Linked DNA regions of Homo sapiens: regions 1, 2, 4 and 5 are each linked to region 3. Evidence: promoter capture Hi-C in 16 types of primary human blood cells and fetal thymus (Javierre and others, 2016). All regions are on one chromosome and are shown on one strand. The core of a region is centred on a gene start or on the middle of the fragment in contact, and the rest is flanking DNA. Distances in the headings are between cores, read along the strand shown. Region 1 has its middle 100 kb from the start of ACSL4. Region 2 holds the start of GUCY2F (guanylate cyclase 2F, retinal). Region 3 holds the start of KCNE5 (potassium voltage-gated channel subfamily E regulatory subunit 5). Region 4 overlaps GUCY2F (guanylate cyclase 2F, retinal). Region 5 has its middle 130 kb from the start of ACSL4.

Region 1 (4,370 bases), core at 255-2,754, 210 kb after region 3:
AGCACATTGACAACTATAGACTTGTTCCTGACATGTCTGGTGTATCCCCATCTCCTATTTTTGACCTGAACTCCTTGGTGACTATAAAGACTCTCTTGAAACCTTCTACCAGGCCCCACAAACTTAAGACCAGGAACGGTATCCATAGCAGATGCAGTTTGTTCTGTGCAGTGGATTTTTGGTTGGTTTTTGTTTTTGAATTTAATATATTTAGGCATGGAATACACACTCCACCTACTGTAGGCACCATTGCTCTCTTCTGTTTTCAGTGCTCAGCTTTTCCGCTTAGCCCCTGAAGGCCTTTATGTTTGAGACCTCTGCCCTAGTACCTCTACCCAGAGCCTTCATCAGGGACCAGCTACCCTGTAGGATCGCTTGACTCTTCTATTTGAAATCATCACTCCAAAGGCCTGCACTCACCTTTGCATTGACCCTTCCTTTTCATTCTCATCTCTTGCCATTTCTGAGCTCATGCTGTATGCTTTGGCCTTGCCAGACTTCATTCAGTCCTTCAAATAAACCATGTTCTCTCTTACCTTCTGTCATTAGCACCTGCTGTTCCCTCGGGTTGAAATATTCTTAACCTCACTTCACTAGGCTAATTCTTCATCATCTTTCAGGTGACTTAGATGTCACTTCATCTAGGAACCTTTTCCTGATACTTTAAATAAATATTAAAAGCTCTACTGGCCGGGTGCAGTGGCTCACCCCTCTAATCTCAGCACTTTGGGAGGCTGAGATGGGCGGATCACGAAGTCAAGAGATCAAGACCATCCTGACCAACATAGTGAAACCCCGTCTCTACTAAAAATACAAAAATTAGCTGGGTGTGGTGGCGCACCCCTGTAGTCCCAGCTACTTGGGAGGCTGAGGAAGGAGAATCGCTTGAACCCGGGAGTAGGAGGTTGCAGTGAGCCAAGATCACACCACTGCACTCCAGCCTGGTGACAGAGCAAGATTCCGTTAAAAAAAAAAAAAGGAAAAGAAAAAGAAAAAGAAAAAGAAAGATGGAAAGAAGGAAAGAAAGAAAAGAAAAAAGCTCTTCTTCTGACCTACACTTCACTTGTGGAGACTAGTTTCTCACCGATCCCATTTCTTTCCTGGACAAAGAGGAAGATTATATTTCCCAGCATCCCTTGCCATTAGATTGGCTTCTGGTCACTTTCAATTTCAAGTCTGGCCATAAATCATGCTGCATGATACTCTGTGAGCTATCTTTCCTTGTTGACCTACAGAATACAGAGGCTCCATTTGAGGACTCTGAGGAGGTCTATGATGGTGGAGCCATGAGACAAAAATGGCCTTGTTCCTGAGTCACTGCTTGGAAGAGAGCATCCCAGGAGAGCTGCTTGACCTGCATTGGCATGTGACATGAATGATAAACTTCTATTGTGTTGAACTAGTGAGATGTGAGGGTTGTTTGTTACAGAAGTCAGAATGAACTACCTTGACTAATGTATCTTCCTATGTCATAGTACTTAATGAGATTGACTATATTTGCCTGTTTATTTGGCTTTACTAGTCAGTTGAATATAGGCTCCACCAGGGCAGGAAGTTTTAGGGGTTTGTTCCCTACTTCACCTCCAGCATCTAGAGTACCTGGCACTTATTAATGGCTCAATTAATATTTACTGAACAAATAAATGCATGAGCATTTATTTCCTTTTAAAACCCACCATGAGTCCAGGCGTGGTGGCTCACGCCTGTAATCCCAGCACTTTGGGAGGCCAAGGTGGGCAGATCATTTGAGGTTGGGAGTTCGAGACCAACCTGGCCAATGTGAAACCCAGTCTCTACTAAAAATACAAAAATTAGCCGGGCATAGTGGCTCACGCCTGTAATACCCGCCACTCGGGAGGCTGAGGCACAAGAATCGCTTGAACCTGGGAGGCGGAGGTTGCAGTGAGCCAAGATCGTTCCACTACACTCCAGCCTCGGTGACAGAGCGAGACTCTGTCTCAAAAAAAAAAAAAAAAAAAAAACACCGTGAAAGAATAGAAAGCCATGCTACGCCATCAGGGCCATACCACTTAATGCTGCCCGAGGGAGTAGCTGCCTTGGAAACTGCCAAACCACCAAGTATGCATTCTGGATCACAGCTCTGGAACTGACCTTACAAGGCTAATCCTATCAGGTCTTACATCTCTGTTCACCTCAGCCATTGCTACCACCCCACCCAAACTTCTTGCCAAGGTCACTTAAGACCTCCATGTTACCAAAACCAATAGTGTTCCTTTTGTCCTCATCTAAATTGATATTCCACCAGTATTCAACACAGTTGACTACTCTCTCCTCCAACAGTCTCTTCTCTCAGCTTCTGTGACAATACATATTTTTCTTAATTCTCCAGTATCTTTGACTACTCCTCTTCAGTCCATTTTGAAGATGCTTCTCTATCCAATGGACTCCTCCTGTATCCAATATCTAAATTTTTGAGTGGCCCAGCACTAGTTTCTAGGGCTTCCTCTCTTCCCTATCTGCACTCTCACTGAGTGATCTCCTCTACTCCCATGGGATTAAATATCATCTATATGTTGACTTCATCCATATTTATATCCCCAACTCCAAACTCTCCTTTATATGGTAGGCTCACATAACCAACTAGCTAGACATCTACTTGGATATCTCAAAGGCATCTTAGACTTAACCTGCCCCAAAATAGAACTCTTTATTCGTACCATCTTCCCTACCTCCCATTCCCCAAATATAATTTCCTTTCCCAGTCTTTCCTATCTCATCAAAAGGAACAACCATCTACCAGGCTATTGAAGCCAGAAACAGCAAATTGTTTTGGATTCTGCTATCTCTCTCATCTCCAACATCTAATCAGCAAGTTCCATAGTTTCTAGCTCCTCTGCCAAAAATCTCATACATGTCCACTCTTTTTAAATTTTCATTGCCAATACCCTACTGTAAGCCACCATCACTTCTTGCCTATACTACTGTAATGAATGCTTAACTGATTACCCAGTTTATGCTCTCCCCTTCCCTGCAGTCTATTCTGCACACATTAGCCAGATTAAGCTTTTAAAAGAGTTTCCCTTGCATTTTAAATGAAGCCCATGCTCCTTTCTATGGACTACAAAGCTGTAAATAACCTGGACTTTGTCTACTTCTTCCATCTCCTCTGTAGCCACTTTCCTCCAATACTACTAGTTATATGTCTACTTTCAGGTCTGTGAGCAAGGTAAGCTCTTTCCTGTCTCAGGCTCCTTACACATGCTGATTTTTCTGCATGCTGCCTGGAATTTACTTTATTTCCCCTACTCCTTGCTTCTCTTCACCAGACTAATTTTTTAGCAAAAACCTCTCCATATGCAAAACTTCCTTCCCTGACTGCAATTTTTAAGTATGCTCCCCTGTCATCCTATGCAACTTCTCTCCTGTGTTTTCTTCATACATCTATCATAACTTGAAAAGATATGTTTATTGGCTATTTTCTTGTTGATTATCTGTCTCCCCCATTGTACTTTAAACTCTATAGGGGCATAGACAACATCTATTTTATTCTATTAATGATAATTGCATTACATAGTACCTAGCACAGTGCTTGGCATATATAGTTCCTTAGAAATATGTATTGAATGAAATAGCAAGCATGCAACAGTGTACCTAGTTGGTGTGATTTGAAGAGGATGGCGAGGTTGTCCCTAATCCCATTCTAAAAAGCTCTCTCTCCACATCCCATTCAACTTACAGCACTATGTGAAACTCTCATTTGAATCAATCCTTTCATAAGGCATCAGTTGGGAAACTACAGCCCACGGACCAAATCTAGACCGCCTCCTGTTTTTTTGTGTTGTTTTGTTTTGTTTTGTTTGTATGTCCAAGCTAAGAATTTTTTTACATTTTTACATGGTTGAAAAAAAAACAAGAGATGAATAATATTTTGTGACATGAAAACATGATATTCGGTTTATTTCTTTATTGGAACAGAGCTACTCCAATTTGTTTATGAATTGTCTATTGCTGATGTCAGACTGCAACAGCTGAGTTAAATAGTTGCAACAAAGACAGTATGGCCTGCAAAGCCTAAAATATTTACTATTTGGCCTTTTACAGAAAAAGTGTGCCAATACATGGGCTAACATATTGTAGGATCCTTTGAAAATGCATAAATTGCCTGAGAAAAGTAGCAAAGCGAGATATTATCTATCTGCCATCATCACTCAAACCTGGATTTGATTATTTGACCTGTTTTAGTCATTCAAAAGAGGATTGAGAAAAATAGTATAGATCAAGAGAAATTTTATAAGAGAAAGAGAGAAAGGCATGCCTTAAGCAAGTATCCCTGACCACCTCTGGGGAGAAGAGCCACATTTAAGTTGTCCTACACTTTGAAGTCATGAGGAGAGGCTAGGGAAAGGGGA
Region 2 (4,577 bases), core at 1,243-3,742, 140 kb before region 3:
AACTGCTGAGTTCATTCAACATTTTCTAGCCTTTGCTGCTCTAATTAGCTTCTCACTGGAGTTGGATTCCCCCAAAGTACTTGCTTCTATCTGGTAGATCCAGTTCCTGATCATTTTTAATTTTGGCCTGGAATCCTCTGTCAAGCTTCTGTGATGTGAAGACCCCACTCCCCGACAATGCTGGAGTTATGCTACACTGAAAACCTGGGCTCCTAAAATCACTGGTTATCTTATTATCATTAATAACAAACACACGTTGAGAAGTTGGTCTGTGCTAAGACTAACTACAAAAAAAAAATGGGAGAGTATAAGGGCCTGGCCAAGAAATCTAAACAAGAAAAGCAAGCATGTACCTCAGGAGGGAGAAAACCAAGTTAGTAAGTTCCCTGCTTGCTTTTGCTTAACATTAAATCTCCAGTGCCCTTCGCAGTGCCTGACACATAGTAGGTGCGCAAAAAATATATGTTGAATTAATACTGAAGAGGAGATATGGAGCACAAATAAAATGTTTTGTATTACCATGTTATTTAAAATGCTCTATTTTAGGCCTTAATCAAGACCCACCTTTGGCAAAATTATCAAGGGGTAAAGTTTGTCTTCAGACTTCTAGCACAGCTCTCTCTGCCCTCTCGTTAATGGAGAGAAAACAACTCTAAAGAAAGAAACTCTTTAAATGATTTGCACTAATATGTAAATGAATGATAATATTTGACACTTTCCTGTATTCCTCCCCAACCAGTGGTGTTTGTTCTCTCTTAAGGGCTGGGGAGAAGTTTATGCCAAAATAATTAATCTCTAATAATATAATGTCTATTTCAAGCATCAGTTGCAGGTAGGCAAAGGAGGATGGACTACTTTTTGAGCAAAAAAATGAAGAAACTTTTGGTGCCCCTCAGATCAAAGTGATTAACTGTCCATTCTAGGTGTAAGGCTGGCATTTTTGTGTTATAATCCAGGTAACTCCTAAGCACAATGCCCACCCCAAATTCTAAAAAGTTAGATTTTTTATACCATTTCTAAAATTCATACAACACGGGTCCCTCCTCAGGCCACATGCCACAAAGTGTCCCTTGGCATTCACTCTCAGTTTTTGTTGCTCTTTTCCCTTTGTTAACTGCAAGATAAACATTTCCCAAGCTGAAGGTCTGCCCTTACATTTTTTCTGGTACCGATGTGATGCATTTGGTGATATTTCTAACTCTGTTAGGACTCCCTGGACAACCAGAAAGTTTTATGTTGCTGTAGGATTTAGTCTTGATCCCCCAACTCAAGATTTTACAGAAGGAAACTTATTCTTTAAAAAAGAAAAAAGAAAAAAAGAAGGGAAGGAAGGAAGGAAGGGAGGAAGAGAGAAGGAAGGAAAAGAGGAAGGGGGAGGAAGGGAGAGGGAAGGAGGGAAGAAGAGAAAGAAGGAAGGAAAGAAGGGGAGGGAGGAATGAAGGGAGAGAAGAAGGAAGGAAGGAAGGAAGGAAGGAAGGAAGGAAGGAAGGAAGGAAGGAAGGAAGGAAGGAAGGGAGGGAGGGAGGGAAAGAAAGGGGCAAGATAGGGGGAGGATGCCCTAAACCTCCACCTGCTGATTTTGGTTTAAGGAAAAAAATTAGCTCACTAAAGTCTTTCCTGGGGTTAATGGGAAATGTGGATATAACTAAAACAAAGTTTGAAGGTATGAAATTTTGGAAATAGAATACTACTGGCCCACAGTTGTTCTGGGGCCATTGCCTAGGTTACTCAGGTGTGAACACCTGCATGGGATCAGACTTCCATGGAAAGCGGCTAGAGCATAGGGATGCATAATTTCATTTCAGGTAGTTTTTACAATCTGATGGGAAGCCTGGCTTCACACAGAAAACCACCGTTCGTTAAACATGTACAAAGAAAGACTATGACAAATAGCTCTGAGGGAAATGGCTCCTCATACCAGCTTGTCAAGCCGAGGACTTCTATGAAAGATTGATTTGTCTTTCTAATTACAGCCTGAATCAAGTTAACAGCTTGTATAAGACAACATCAGGAAGCAATAAAAAAAGAATCATGAGAGAAACTAAACGAAAGCTTGGATGAGAGCCTTTGAGCTCAAATCTTGACTTAAAGTATCTCGAAGGCTCTCTTTAACCCTTCTTTCCTTCTTTCCTTCATTCTTTAAATTTTTTTTTTTACTACATATTGCAGTAAAACTAATGTATCTCAATCAGCGTCTCAGCTCCCAGGTGGGCTGTGTCTTTTTTCCCCCCATTACAATCTTTCTTATAAACAAGAGCTGTCAACTACTCACCAAGTAATTCACCGCTCAAATGTCTTCAGTTTACTGCCTGCGCATGCAGACCACTGGCATAGCTACCTCAGTGTGTCCATTTCTTTGCATCCTCTATGCATTCACAATCCTGTCAAGGACTCCAGTCTGTTGACAAATTCCATTAATGGGGTAAATAATTGAAAGCGTTAGTAAATGTTTTGAAAATCACTCTTCAGCATCCGCAGACCAAGACTTGGATTAGGATTTAGAGTGACACTTCTAATCCTTTAAATTGATCCCACCTGTAGCAGAGTTAGTGCTGACCTAAATGCAATGACCCAGAGATTAACAAACAAATAGAGTCCTCTGGATAAATACGTCCTCCACAGACTACTGCCTTCTTTTACCTTTCAAAGTCAGACACAAACTCTCAGATTTTGCCTCTGTGTTCTTCCTTGTTCCATTCTGTCTAATAACCACCAATCGCCCTTTCTCCAGGACAGTTCTAAATGCCAAAACATTCATCAGCTGTGATTCCAGCCCAGAATATAAAAGGTGATCCAGGCTGGCTCCCTGCAAAATTCAAAGCAGGTGAATTTTGTCTCCTTCTCCTATTCCCCTTAAGTGCCTTCACTGCCTTTCCTCCCAAGAGAGACTCCCTACTTCCCTCTACACCTTTGTACAGAGACATTGTTTCCCCATACTTTAGATGTATTCCTTTTCCTTAAGAAGTCCCTCTCTGTCCTGGGCATCATTCACTCAGGGCCCTGTTCTGGATTCCCAACGTGAGAACTGAGGTGTTAAGGGCTAAAAATGACTTATATTAAATGAGAAATGTTTTTTAATAATAGTTTTATTGAGATATAATTTATCTACCACAAAAGTATATAATTTAGGGTTTTTTTAAAGTATATTCACAAGCTTGTGCAACATTTTCATTATTCCCACAAAGAAATTCCATTCTTGTTTAAAAGTCACTCCCCATTTCTCTCCTCCTCCTAGCCCCAGGCCACCACTAATTTACTTTCTCTATGGATTTTCCTATTCTGAACATTTCATATAAATGGAATCATACAACATGTGATCTTTTGCGAGTGGCTTCTTTGTTTGAATGAAAGAAGGACATGGATGAAATTGGAAATCATCATTCTCAGTAAACTATCGCAAGAACAAAAAACCAAACACACTTTGTTTGAAAAACAAACCGTTTTCAAGGTTCATGCACGTTCTAGCCTGTACCAGTACTTCATTTCTTTTGTGGCCAAATAATATTCCACTTTTTTGGGTATACCACATGATCAGTTGATGGAAATTTAGGTTGTTTCCACCTTGGGCTATTATGAATACTGCTTTTATTACTTTTGTGTAAAAGTTTTTATATGGACATATTGTTTTTATTTCTCTTTGGCATATACCCAGGGAATTGCTGGGTCATATAATAACTCTATGTTTAACATTTTTTGAATTGGCAAACTGTTTTCCAAAGTATATGCACCATTTGGCATTCCCACCAGCAACATATGAGGGTTCTTTTTTGCCTACATTCTTACCAACACTTGTTACTATCTATCAGTTTTTTATTTAAGTATGACAGGCATTTTATATGTACATTATACTTATATGTACATCTTTATGTTCACAACAACCATGAAGGTGGATATTACCCATTCTTTCCATTTTGTAAATGAGGATGCCAAGACTGAGATAAATTAGGCAATAATCATACTTACTGAGTGCCAATGATGTGACAGGCATTTTTGGAAGCCCTGTCTCCTTAGATCTTCACAGTGACCCCACGAGATAGATACTATTTGAATTCCCAGACATCCAGAGAGGTTACAGTAACTTACCAAAAATCACACAGCCACTGGTCAGTAGAGACAGAATTTGAACTCAGACACTCTAATTCTAGTAAGTAATAGAGCCAGAAAATTTAAACGCAAGACTATTTGGCTCCAAGAAAGCTCACGTTTATCCTTGATATATTCCACTAATGCACCCTTGTGCTATCCCTCCAAAGACTGCTTGCACTCTAATAGAGTCTCCAGAAACACACCGTGACTACCCAAAGGAAACAATCCCTAATTGTAGAATTTCAGGTGACCTGATGGAAATACTGGTGCAAGTGAGGGCCCCAGTTAGCATTCTCTATGTAGTGCTGCATGGTGCCATGAGCAACCCCAGTATGGATTTTATGAGAAGGTTCTGATGAGGACTAGGATGTTCAAGGGACCATCATTCAAGGAATGTTCCAAAATCCTGAATAGACATAAGATTCTAAATTTATAGGTAGAAGTAGCTGGGAATTAGCACATAAATAAAATTTCTAAAGTGAATTTGCTTC
Region 3 (4,023 bases), core at 856-3,355:
GGATCACTTGAGGTCAGGAGTTTGAGAACCTCCTGGCCAACATGGTGAAACCCCCCGTCTCTACTAAAAATACAAAAATTAACTGGGCATGATGGGGCACATCTGTAATCCCAGCTACTCAGGAGGCTACTTGGGAGGCTGAGGCAGGAGAATCGCTTGAACCCAGGAGGCAGAGGCTTCAGTAAGCCTTGATTGTGCCACTGTACTCCAGCCTGGGTGACACAGTGAGACTCTGTCTCAAAAAAAGTAAAATAAAAACAATTATTAAGGTGGCTTCTAAAAATTAGGTTTGATAATAGCTAAAAGGGATGGGCCTTAAAGGTTTTTTAAAGTGCATCCTGAAAGACTGCATTGTGATCTTTGAAAGTGCTTCAGAAATAAGAAAAAAGGAGGGATAAGTAATAAAGTAGGTATAACTTTTGAAACACTTGAAAAAACAACCCATTTAGCCATATAAACATTTTCTTCACCCATAATCACACATATCAAATTGGAACTGGTTACATAGATATAAATATCACAACCACCCAACCCCCAAATCCAAACATCATTTCCAAAAGCAAAAGAAAAAGGATTCCTTCTCCATATGGTACTGGGTCTTAAGGCTGGAATCTCTGAGAGAAGAGTCTTGCGTTATTGTTTAAACAACCTTTATTACCTGCCTCTGACATTCCCCAGGGTTACAGAGCAGGGGGCATCTGAGCCTCAAGTTCCACGGATGAAGCAGACACTGCAATAACAACTGAATCAATAGAGGAGAGGCATTTGGAAGTACTGGGGTGATACACCCAGTAATGGTAATCCTCAGCAGAAGATGGCATAGCTACCAAAAATCAGGCGTTACCACTGGGATGAAAACTGGGGAGGCAAGAAAATCATACGGTTGGAGTCATAGATCATTTCCCTCCCCGTTGAGCACTCCTCCCCCTTCCGTCCCCCATTAAGTTCATTCTATCCCACAGACTGGTCCTAGTGTCCTGCTAGCTCCCTGCTGAAAGAGAGAGGGAGGGAAAAGATGTCTGAGGTCTCTTCATTTCCTTTGTCTCTGTCCCTAAGGCAACTGGAAGCTGGAGCTGCTGCAGTCGGCCTGGCAAGCCCGTTGGCTCTGCAGAGTGAGCAGTCCCTGGCAGCCCCTGGAGCAGCTGCCAGTTAGACGGCCCAGAGTTCTGATAGAATGCATTGCTTCAGTTCAGTGCCAAGTGTTGGACGTGTTGGATTCAGTTCCCAGAGGGCTGGAGCGTGCTGTCAGGGCTGTCTGAAGACAAGAGAGCAGAGGCAGTTTAGTGCAGTTGGATGTGCGGGGTAGGGGTGGAGGCGCAGGGGTGAAGAGGGAGAAACTGGCCCGAATGGGTAAGGTGGTGCTTCTCCTTCCAGGGCCTTCCAGACAAGGTCTCCTGGCCTCTCACCATTATCTGGGCCTCAGATGAGGCGAACCCTGGAAGGGAGTTGGGGGTGGAAGGTGGGAGGCGCGCCCAGGGATGAGCGAGATGAGGAGGGCGCGAACCAGCAATCTGGGGCTGTGGTTTTAGACCCGCTCAGCGCCCTGGGCGAGGGCAGGCAGCCCCTCGGAGGCAAGCTGGCGGCGGCCCTCGGCCTGGGAGCCCGCGGCAGCCTCGGCGTCGGCGGTCAGGGCGCCTCCCGGGGCCCATTCGTGCTCGGCGCAAGCCTGGGACGGCTCGTCCTTGGCCTCGACGAGCTTACGGGAGCGGGTGTAGGCCAGGATGAGGCCTCCGGCCAAGCAGGCGTAGAAGATCATGATGAGCAGGATGTAGAGATAGGCGTCGTCGCCCTTGGCGCTGGTCACCTCGCGGCCCACGAAAGGGTCAGGCACGACCCCCATGCCCATGCTGGGACGAGGGCCAGCGCCCAAGCCGCTGGCATTACCCCGGTGGTGCAGCTCGAGCAACAGGCGGCTCAGAAGGGTTCGCAGCCGCTGGCTCTCGCTGCAGTTCATGGCTTTCGGGGAGTGACACGGCGGCTCCAGGACGCTGCTGACCTTTCCCCCTGGGCGAGGGGAAGCGAGCTAGCGAGCGGGCCGGCCGGCGGGCAGGGCTCAGCAGCGGAAACAGCGGTAGCACCCAGCTCTCCGGCGAGCGCGCAGTGGCTGGGGGCGCCGACGGCGGGGCCTCCTTATTCCCTCACTCCCGCCCCTCCTCCCCTTCCCCACCACGCCCCCTCCGGCCCGCGGCCGCCTCTTCCCAGGCTCTGGCTGTCTCGCTGCTCCAGGGAAAGGGGACAGCTGGTGGGGGGAGGAGAAGGGGACAAGAGTGGGGGCGAGGCTGGGAGACGGGCGGAGGGGGCGGGGGCTCGGAATGCGCGAGGCCCCAGGCAGCAGACGCTGGCAGGGCAGCTTGCTGGGGCCAAGCCTGGACCCTGGGCTGCGGAAGAGAATTCCTTCCAAGTTCTGGCCACCTGCCCTGCAGGCCAGGCTTTGGCCCAGATACAGCATTTGGCCCCCTAAGGCAGCTCTGCCTTGGGGCGCTCAAGGGAGAGGGCAGACGCCTTTCCGCAGCAGAGACCCCTTGTCCACATTTTATGGAAGTTACTCCCATATACAGGGACCCAGGCCTATCTTTCTAGTCCTCATTCCTTTCCTTTTCCCCCCGCCCCCCTTTTCACCCCCCTCCCACCTTGTCGGAGGAGAGCATCTTATTCAGAAGATGCTCAGGCTGAATTTGGTGACTGAGTGCTCAGGCACCTGCTAGAAGGCCAAGGCAGAGTAGAACTCCCTGGTTATCCAAAATGGTTTCTGGTGATATAAGTGATATTACACCTTCTTGGAAGCACCCCTGCTCTGATGTCCTATGACACTTTTTGAAAAGTCAACACATCTTAGCACATGAATGTACTATTCATAATGGGAGCCTGTTTCCCATGGGTAAGTAAGCCATCTTCCCAGAAGTGAAACCAAGTTCTTCCAATAAGAGTAGCATGCACATTTTAAAAGGCCCTTTGACTACACTCTGTGGATATCTCGGGATCTGAAAAGTGCCAGTTCTAGAGAATATGCTCACCCTACTCCCAGTTAGGCCAGCAAACAGCTGTGTGCCTCTCTAGACTTGGTAACAGGTCTAGGCCCTAATGGCTTTTAGGGCAGCCATTTTTTTCTCAAAGGCTGTCTTTTTTTAGGGGAAAACAAGGCACCAAGACAAAGATCAGGCCAGATATGTTAAATTGGAAACAGACTGAGCTTCACAAAGGAAAAGGGTTGGTTTGTAGATGGTGGGGTAGAAAAAATGAGGTAGTGCTGGCTAGGTCTGGTTGTCCATAGTTGCCAAATGAGAGCAGAAAGCAAGAAAAGTGTATGACCTTAGGCACACCTTGAAAATAATGCTGCCTGTTCAAGACCGTTCAGTCCAGGGACCATTCAATCTATAGGTGCCATGGGTTAAAAAAGGAAGGTTTTCCGATGCCTCTTCCCCAACCGTTCTTCAGCCCACCATCCACCCAGGGGCTGTAGCCTTCTGTGTGTTCAGGTGAGGTTGGCACCAAACTGTATCCAGGGTCTCAAACAGAGCCTTGCTTCACAGCCTCTAAACAGGCCTCAGAGACATTCCACATGACCCTGACACTGGCTCCCTTCTAATCACCTTGCCTCAATATTCTCACCTCAGAGGGCCTCAGGAAAGAATTGTTAAAGCAACTTGGCAGGATGAATGCCAGAGGACACAGCCAGAGAATTTTCAAAGCACTGCTAACCTAGTGATATGACTGTTGAGCTAAAAAGACTTCTCTTATCTGTTAAAACAGGAGTCCCCAACCTCCCAGGCTGCTGGACCTTGGCCTGTTAGGAACCAGCCGCACAGAAAGAGGTGAGCAGAGGGCAAGTGAGCATTATCGCCTGAGCTACACCTCCTGTCAGATCAGCAGTGGCATTAGAGTCTCAGAAGAGCTCAAACCGTATTGTGAACTGCGCATGCCATGGATCTACAATTGCATGCTCTTTATGAGAATCTAATGCCTGATGATCTGAAGTGAAACAGTTTCATCCTGAAACTATCCACCCCTCCCCAGTGTCCATGA
Region 4 (4,229 bases), core at 268-2,767, 160 kb before region 3:
TTGGAAGGAGAAGTAAGTATGTGTAGCTCAGCCCCTCCTGTCTTCTTTCTCTTGGGAGCAGACTACCTAAAAGAAGCAAATGCTCTGCTGTTCCTCTCCAGACTACACATTTTAAAAAAGACCTGCCCTCATGGGGCAGGACTGCAGTGGTCCAGCAATGCCATTGGCCAGATGGAGAAGTTTGTTTAATCCTTGGGTTCAGTATTGGGAAGCTCAAATGCCTACAGGTAGAAGCCGCATCCTCCAATACCAGTGTTATCAAAAATAAAGGAAATAGTTTCTTATATACTAGCTCTTTTGCCTTATTGTTAAATTAATTCAGAACTTACACCACAAACAGGACTTATTTTTATTAGGCTCCCTTGAACAGCACCAGTATATATTAAAGTTTTGTTTATCTGTTCTTAAATACATTTATTCTTCCTGACTATATAATGTCATCGTGGGCTGCTTAAAGATAAAAGAACAAAATCTCAAATAATATGCCTTTGTTTCACAAATGTTTTCAGCAAACTAAAGATGTTTTTAATTTGTCTGTGGTTGCCTGCCATTGACTGGGCCTCCTATGGAATTGAGACTGTTGGTCTGAAAATAATTTACCATGCTGATGTTTTAGGTTCTCAGCTCATGACAACCTATGAATGTGTACTTACTTGATCGAACTCCAGCTTCTCAGGAATTTCACCTCTTGCTGCTGCCTCTGTGAAGGCTTGATAGAAGGTCTTTTCTTGGGACTCCACTGTAATGGTCAACACTGCATCATAGGCTTCCCGGAGCTTTGGGTTGTTCCTTAGGACCCGGTAGGGGGTGTGCTTATAAGGTAAACTGTAGAGCAGGGCATCATAAGGAACAAAGACGTAGGTTCCATCAGTCATTTTCAGATCATGAGCACATTCCAAGAGATGCATCTGAGTCTCTCCCCCAATCAAAGCTGAATGCATACACATGATGATTACTGAAACCAACAAAGCAAGGAGGTTATGGAAGCAAACTGTTAGTAAAGCACAGTACCAAAAACTACAGAGAGGAAAAATAAATGTGTTCTAACCAATTTGTAAGTGGTTTCTTATGCCTCCAAGATAAGCAAGATGTTGTCCTGAGCTGAGGCTGAGGTATGCTCATGGACTCTGGATTGGGGATAGTGACAAGAGAGAGATGCCTACAGGCTGCAGAGCCTAATACTCAGACAGGAACAAGAACTAGTATAATCAATGGGGAGTAGCATAACAAAAGAGGCTTTAGGGTTGGAAAAATCAGCTTTACATCGTAACACCACCAGTTTTAACTGTGTACCCTTTTTTAAATTACTTAACCGCTCTCTGTCTCGTCCATAAAATGGAGATAACAATATATACTTATGGGATGGTAGTGATGATTGAAGAAAGGAGACAAGTCATTTACTTAGTACATAGCACACAATAAATAGTAGCTACTATATACCTAAGAATTAGAAGAGAGAATAGTAAGAGAGGATGGGAGATGTTACCACAGCCACTATTGCTTTTTATTGTCCATCTCCTACAAACATGCACTCTAATACATTTTGACCAATTGTTCTCATCCTTACCAAGGTCATTATAGACAATGAAAAGCACTAACTCACTCACCTATAAATGTTACTACAGGTTGAGTACTCCTTATACAAACTATTGAAGACCAGAGGTGCTTCAGACTTCAGACTTTTTTTAGATTTGGGATATTAAGTATAATATTTGCATTATACTTACCTGTTGAGCATCCCTAATCCAAAAATCTGAAATCTGAAATACTTTAATGAGTATTTCCTTTGAGAGTCATGTTGGTGCTCAAAAGTTTTCAATTTTGGAGCATTTCGGATTTCAGATTCTCAGATTAAGGACGTACTCTGTGTAATATTATGGGTGAGATGTCCAACTTTTTAAAATCTAACTTCCCTGTAATTGAAATTACTATGGACTCAATTTAATTCTTCCTAGACTTATGAAACTATGTTGTTTGGCAAGGTTATGCTAGAATAGAGTGGATTCAAGGGGGCCACGGTTGAAAAATGGCAGCTAGATCATGAGACTGAAAGTCTTATATCCAATTTTACCCTTGGCATGCTAAATAAGTTTAGTTTAAGCCCACTTGTGCTTCAGTGCCCACATCTTTAAAATGTAGATTCCAATGCATTTTACAGGTACACTGAGTAGTTTAATTAGATAATGCCTGGCAAGCATTCTGAGCTCCTTGAAGAAAGGCAAAGACTCTATTGCTACTGGTAAATATTAATTATACATGTTTATATGGAACCTTTAATCTCAAGAACTAAGGGTGCTTAACTACATTCAATGACTTGTCTTTGGCATTTGCATATTGTTTCATCTATTTTCAAACACCTTTTTACACTTGCTAAGCACCCCTAGAAAGTTTCCCTTTGAGCTAGAGCTGGTACCTTTTAGTTTTTAAAGTGTAACTAATAAGTTATGAAGTTTATTTAAACATACCACACACATATGCACACACCACAACATGACATGAGTTTTCAAATGACCATTAACTCCTTCAAAATAATTACGCTAAGAGGTTCTACATGTATTCTGATGTTCAGACCTTCCTTAGAATTCTCGAAGGATATCTTTGGAGCTAGTTCATGAGCCCCACAAGGAATTCAGCCTCACTTGTTTATAATCACACATTGTATCATGGGAAAATGGAGTGCCAGAGATGTTTGACAATGCAAGAGTTGGATTTAGAAAAAGAAAGTAGAACTGAAGACCTCTCACTCTCTACATTTGGCTGAACCATTAAAAGTAAATTAGTTTGGTCAAATTAGTATAGTCATAGGTCCATTGAGGCGGGGAAAATGAGTTTAGTCAGAGGCTTCGGTTGGCCAGTTTGTCCAACAGTATCCTCAGCAAGTAGATCAGTATTAGCATCTTTCTTCTGCAAATCAGAGATTGAGTGATTTGTTCAAGGTTACTCAACAGTGATACAATTTGATTTAATTTACTTAAAGGAATATTAAAATGACTTTACTGCATGGAAAATGTTAAATAGAACTAGTGTTTGGTGCTGATTGCAATACAGCAAATACTTTAACATACATTACACGTAGTAGGTGCTATGGTGATGTGCCATCAAGATACACACTTCAGCACTGAAGCACTCATTCCACCAGCTGCTGGGTGTGTTAGTAGCTGATAGGTGACTTTTCTCTGAGAGTTGGCCTCAGCTAAGGAAAGGCACCTCTCTCAAGGTTACATCCTCTCAGTAGTGTGCTGGGGTTCGCTTTTGCTGGTTCAACTTTCAGAGATTTTGTGAGCCAGTTAACATCATGTTATTAGCTTGAAATTGACCACTGTGGGAGTGATTACACTATGGAAATCAGCAAACACTACAAATCAAAACTTTTTTCCATCTGAAGATCTGACTGTTAAACAATTATTATTACACACTGTGCCCCTTTCTGTGGGTGAGACTGAACCTAATGACAATTCCACATGGAGGTAGAACAGCCCAGACTCCTTATCTCAATTCTGGACAACTCTGAAGGGTCATACCAGCTCTAGAGCTCCCCTCTAAGACTGGCTGAGGCCTTTGTTGTGGCTGCACTGCAGTTCAGTTCTCTCTGCCCAATCCTACTGTCTTCTCTTCCTCACAGGTGTTCTCCTTGAAAATACTCATTCAGTAAGCTTCCTGCACTCAAAGCTCCATCTAACAGGCTGCTTTCCAGGGAAACTGACTTGTGACACTGGATTAGAGCCCCCACCTTACCCTGAGATAATTTTTATCCTGGCACTTACAAGATTTATTGCTGTTATTTACCTATATCAGCTTCTACTACCAAACTGTGAGCTCCTTGAGGTCAGGAACTGTGTCTTATTTATTTCCATATCCTTGTACATATTATGCACACAATGAATGTTGTTTAGATGAATGTTTGTAAACTAACAGCCTCTTCAGGAAGAGAGCTTGTACACTTGGGTATTTTTTGTGGGTTCCTTGAGATATGAGATATGGGCATATATTGATTGTTAGGATGGAGGAACAATTGGAAGTGATATTTGCTGGGCAGGTAGATACTGCCATGCCTGTTGTTCATGCCTACTATCATTAACTATGCCCAGTACCTTACCCTCAACCCTAAATCTCTCCTCTTTATTTTTCTTTCATTGACCCATACTGACCATATTTCAAAGGGTCCGAATTTTTATAACTGAAAAGACCCTTTAAGACCAAGTAGGCCAACCTGTCCCCATCATTTTATA
Region 5 (4,620 bases), core at 208-2,707, 240 kb after region 3:
TGAACACAGACACACACAGAGAGGAGACCATGAAGACACAGGGAGAAGACAACTATCTCCAAGCCAAGGAAAGAGGCCACAGAAGAAACCAATCCTGCCAACTCCTTGATCTTGGCACCTAGTCTCCAGAATTGTGAGAAAATAAATGTCTGTTGTTTAAGCCACTCAGTCTGTGGTACTTTGTTATGGAAGCCCTAGTAAACCAATATATTGTCTGAAACTGCTGTTTATCAGATTCCTAAGTGATAACAATCTGATTTTAAAAATTATATAGTACATTAAGCTATCTCTCACACTTTAAACATCAATGGCAAAACTAAAGGTATAGTAACAATTATATCTAATTTGGCTCTACATTTCTTGGGGAAAAAAGAATAAACACATTTGCTATGTTATTGGTGAAGAAAGTCTGGAGAAATAGTATTTTCTTCTAATGTCTTCATTTAGAAACAAAATACTAAAATTATGTAAATATGTGAACTTATCTTTACAATACAAAATGCAACAATTTCAAACAGCATGACATGAAAGCAGTTTTTGTCTAGTTTTGATGCCATAATACGTAACTGCTTTTGACATTTTAATATACATTCAGTCTCCAAATAAAACATACTGTAATATTATGTTTATAGTTGTCAAAAATTATGTTCATTTTGCATACTTTAAACAGTTTGCATCACTCAAATAAGATAAATCAATTTTTCCTATATTTTAAATAATATTAAAAATTGCATTAAAATGTATTTTTAAAATGTTAGCATTGTGGTAGGAAGCCTCTGAGATTGCCCCAGTGATTCCCACCTCCTGGTATTTAGGCCCTTGTGTAATCCCAACCCCATGCATGTGGGCTGAATCTAGTTACTTGCTCCTAAGAGAATATGGCAAAAGTAATGGGACTACACTTTTGAGACTAAGTTATGATTTCTCCCTTGCTTTCTTTTTCTCTCTCCTTTGCTCATTCTGAAGGAAGTCAACTGCCATTTTATGAGCTGTGAGCTGCCCTATGGAGAGGTCCACATGGTAAGGAACTGATGTCTCTGGCCAACAGCCAGAGAGGACTGAATCCTTCTAGCTACCACAGAAGTGAGTTTGGAAGCAGATCCTTCCCCAAGCTGAGCCTTCAGATGAGACCACAGACCATGCACTGCACCTTGATTGCAGCCTTCTGAGAGACCCTAAGCCAGAGACATCCAACTACACCATGCTCAAGTTGCTGACCCACAGATACCATGAGATAATAAATGTTGTCTTAAGCTACTGATTTTGGGGTAATTTGCTTTGAAGTAATAGATAGCTAATGCAATCTTCAATAATATAATGATCTAAAATAAAATACTTTTGTTTACCATTTATTTTTTATTATGGCAAGAATGAGAAAATCTCTGGAAAATCTTTGGGTTGTACTAGCCAGGAATGATCACAAAGGAAGCAATTATTTCCCCTAGACCTGAGTTACCTGAAGGCACTGGTTAAAAATTCAGATGTCTGAAGCCTACCCTGGAACTACAAGATCAGAAGATCTAGTGGATGAGTCCAGAAATCTGTATCTTAACAAATCCCACCCCACCAAGCAAATCCAATGCTCATTGAAGTGTGAGACTTATTTTTTTTCAGAGAGGCATTTATACAATTTAACTGTTCTCAAGCATGGCTGTGCATCAGATTCCTCTTGGGAGTTTATTCAATCCTGAATTCTACTCCAGACTTGTTGCAGCAGAATCTTTGAGGATAAGCCAAGGAATCTGTATTTTTAAGGCTGCCTAGTTACTTCTGAAGAAATTCCTTAATGACAAGCCAGGCCTGGTCAGGAAATGTCACTGAATCATTCTTGGCTTGTGCCACCCACCTATTCTGTCCTTAAACTTGGAAAATAATGCTTATACTATCTTATATCTTATCAGTCCTAGAGGCAGCCACCCACACCTCAGGTCACATGGGCTAAGAGAGAAAACAGGAGCCTGGGTTTGGGGGAAAGGCCCTTGGACTACAAGTGACAACATTCAGTGATATCAGGGTAGGAATAAAGCACATAAATGAGTATTCTACATATTCTACACTTCTGGAGGCACCTGCAACTCAGGTCACATGGACTATAAGAGAAAACAAGGACTCCATCACTAACAGTATCTGGAAATCTCCACGGTGGCACGATGAGGCATGACTGTCAAGCAGTTTGACCTGTTTAGTAGTTGGCCCCCGACCTTTTCTTTTTCCACTATATCCCAGTGAGCAGGCTAACGAGATTCGTGATAACAACACTATGCCTTATTTCAGGAGTCTTGTTACAGTCAAGTTCTGTGTTAAAGGCTTAGCATGCAAGGACTCATTTAATACATTAACCTTGTGAAGGAAGTACATCAGTAGTCTCCATTTTATTCATGAAGAAACTAAGGCTCAGAGAGGTTGTGTGGCTTGCCATGAGTTACAAAGCTAGAAAGTGGCAGAGCTTGAACTCAAACCCAAGTCTATTTGACTCCAGAGGCTGGGACCATAAGCATAAATTCTTTTATTTGTAAGATGATACCACTTGTTTCCTTTGGCTAGTTTGTTCACCACTTAGCCTAACAATGGCCACAACTGGAACTGTTTCTTTTATTTTAGCTTCAGGGCTTCCCAGGTTGGGTGTCGAGTTGATCTCAGCTGGCTGCCAGCCCTGGCTGTAAGCTCTGAAGATCCTCCAGATAAGAACTGTTCTTATAAATTCTGGCTCCTGGACTAGTTATGGGGACAGGATGAAAGGCTCCAGAGTAATCCTTTAAGCTCTCCTAGGCAGTTGCAAGGGTATCCATCACCAGACCTGTTGCCTGAGACACTGGCATTCCTGAGACCCCAGGCCATACAGATAGAGTGGCCGCTGGCTCTAGTATAATCAGAAACTAACTGTCTTGTTAACTCTTTGTTCTGGTGTCAAACTGACACTCATAATTAGCTTTGAAAGCAACATAGGGGCTATGGCTGGCCATTGCATAGGAGACATAAAGGGCAAGGAGGAGAAATGTACTCAACAGTGTCAGTGGGCAAGTAACTTCTCTCTCTCAGGGACAGACCCTGACTCTGGTGTCCCTCTCCTGAGTTTCCTTATGTATAGCTGGAGTAGGAATCACTCCACTGGGCTTGGGGATCCTACCTTGGCTCTGACCTGGCCCAAGGGCCTTCTCTGCTGGTGAGAGCCCCAAAGCTGGTGCTGTGCTCCCTAGCTGAGAGAACCCTCCCCTTCTGAGCCAGCACTCAAGGGCCTCTTGGAAAAGCTGCTTCTGTGAACCAGAGGAAACAACAGCCCATAAGAGAAGATTCTAGGAGTTCTCGGGTCCCAGTAATTGTGGAGCAAGAGTGTCCACAATAACTCATTTCCTAGCCTCTGGCAACTAGGGGGCATTGAAGATCATTTTAGCAGGGACTGGAAGAGAGGCTTCTCAGACTTATGTGATCCAATGGGTCAGATTTGCCCGGCCTGGGGATTAGCTGAGACTGCACCTACTCATAACCACTCACTTGGTGGATTCAGAAGAGAAAACAGAAATAAATCCTATGGGTCAGGGAGACTGGCTGACTATATCATAAAAGCCCATGCAAGGCAAGAGGTTCTTGAAACTTGGAGTTAACTGGGATCTGTCCTACTTCCCTGAAGAAGTTCTAAGCAATTGGCTTTGGAACTCCAAGGACTTAACAAATAAATCACTGGGAGACCAAAGCCATCTTGGTTAGTGTTCTGAAAACAAAGTTAGGTCAAGGTTCACACGTCAGTGTTAAACATCAAGGGCTAAGGCTAAGCTAGAGTTTCCTGGAGGTTCCTTGCAAGCTTTTGGGAACCTCAGAGAAGATACAGCTCACTTTCTGATGATTACCTTAAGCAGCAAGAAAGGCCAACTTTTAACACTCTTGGGCCTGAGAGCAAAATTTTAGTAGCTGCTCCTGAGTTTCCTCCCATTCCTCACACTTGATGCCTAGTTATTCATGGCCTAAAGTAAGACAGAAATGCCTCAGGGGCAGCATTTCTGAAGAAACAACCTAGGTTTGTGTCTGTGGGAACTTGGGGAATAACTGGGTCCCTGGAGGTTAAACAGCTACTGCTCCCAGGGCAGTTTTCCCAAGCATTGCCAGAATTTCTGAGCTGTCTTCAGATTGCATCTAAGAAGAGGGTGTCAAGTGACTTACTCCTAAAGGGACAAAAAAAGAGGTGGTAAGGAAGAGGCCTCAGAGTAGCTGTATCCTGTGCTAAACCCTAGGTAGTCCAGTCCCAGCACTCACTCTCAGTCCAAGAAAAATATAGCAAAATATAGAAGACATTAAAATGGCCTAGGTTGGGTGTGTGTGTGTAGACTTTCTTAGTTTCTATGTCTCCAACTCAGATAATGGTGACTGTTTATAACAAATCTCAGTTAAAGTAACACCTATGATTATGGATATAAGCCATTTCCTACCATCCTGGATAAGTGCTGCTTGCATTCAGAATGTGACTAAAACTATCATGCCTAACTTGTTGCATTAGATTTATGGGATTATGGGATTTTGTTCCGGGACCTGCTAGGTCTAATTAAAGTGTTAGGACTCCTAGGAGACCAGTTGTGGTTTGCACAGACAGGAGCTTGAAAACATGCTGCCGTGAATGTGTTCCCAGCT

The links. The method cuts DNA at HindIII sites, captures the fragments that hold promoters and counts their contacts. A CHiCAGO score of 5 or more calls a contact.
Region 1: a contact is called between a fragment that was not itself captured here and the fragment with the promoter of KCNE5 in region 3, in 1 of 17 cell types (activated CD4 T cells). The highest score is 7.4, in activated CD4 T cells.
Region 2: a contact is called between the fragment with the promoter of GUCY2F here and the fragment with the promoter of KCNE5 in region 3, in 15 of 17 cell types (naive B cells, M2 macrophages, M1 macrophages and 12 more). The highest score is 15.7, in naive B cells.
Region 4: a contact is called between a fragment that was not itself captured here and the fragment with the promoter of KCNE5 in region 3, in 2 of 17 cell types (neutrophils and naive B cells). The highest score is 6.3, in neutrophils.
Region 5: a fragment that was not itself captured here is called in contact with the fragment with the promoter of KCNE5 in region 3 in 2 of 17 cell types (neutrophils and activated CD4 T cells); the score reaches 6.9 in neutrophils.

What each region holds. Positions count from the first base shown.
Region 1 is chrX:109,835,662-109,840,031 of GRCh38, forward strand. No RefSeq gene overlaps it. Among named protein-coding and RNA genes, the nearest start is that of ACSL4, 100 kb to the left of the region's middle. The HindIII fragment of the contact is 3,036 bases long and covers 1-3,022 here.
Region 2 is chrX:109,479,594-109,484,170 of GRCh38, forward strand. GUCY2F (guanylate cyclase 2F, retinal) reads right to left here and starts at 2,493. Exons shown (of 20, transcript NM_001522.3): 1 at 2,273-2,493. The HindIII fragment of the contact is 1,102 bases long and covers 2,051-3,152 here.
Region 3 is chrX:109,623,067-109,627,089 of GRCh38, forward strand. It overlaps KCNE5 (potassium voltage-gated channel subfamily E regulatory subunit 5), which reads right to left and starts at 2,106. Exons shown (of 1, transcript NM_012282.4): 1 at 634-2,106. The coding sequence starts at 1,954. The coding sequence ends at 1,526. The HindIII fragment of the contact is 6,764 bases long and covers 1-4,023 here.
Region 4 is chrX:109,464,489-109,468,717 of GRCh38, forward strand. It overlaps GUCY2F (guanylate cyclase 2F, retinal), which reads right to left. Exons shown (of 20, transcript NM_001522.3): 3 at 654-955. Among named protein-coding and RNA genes, the nearest start is that of GUCY2F, 15 kb to the right of the region's middle. The HindIII fragment of the contact is 4,267 bases long and covers 1-3,651 here.
Region 5 is chrX:109,859,951-109,864,570 of GRCh38, forward strand. No RefSeq gene overlaps it. Among named protein-coding and RNA genes, the nearest start is that of ACSL4, 130 kb to the left of the region's middle. The HindIII fragment of the contact is 4,679 bases long and covers 1-3,797 here.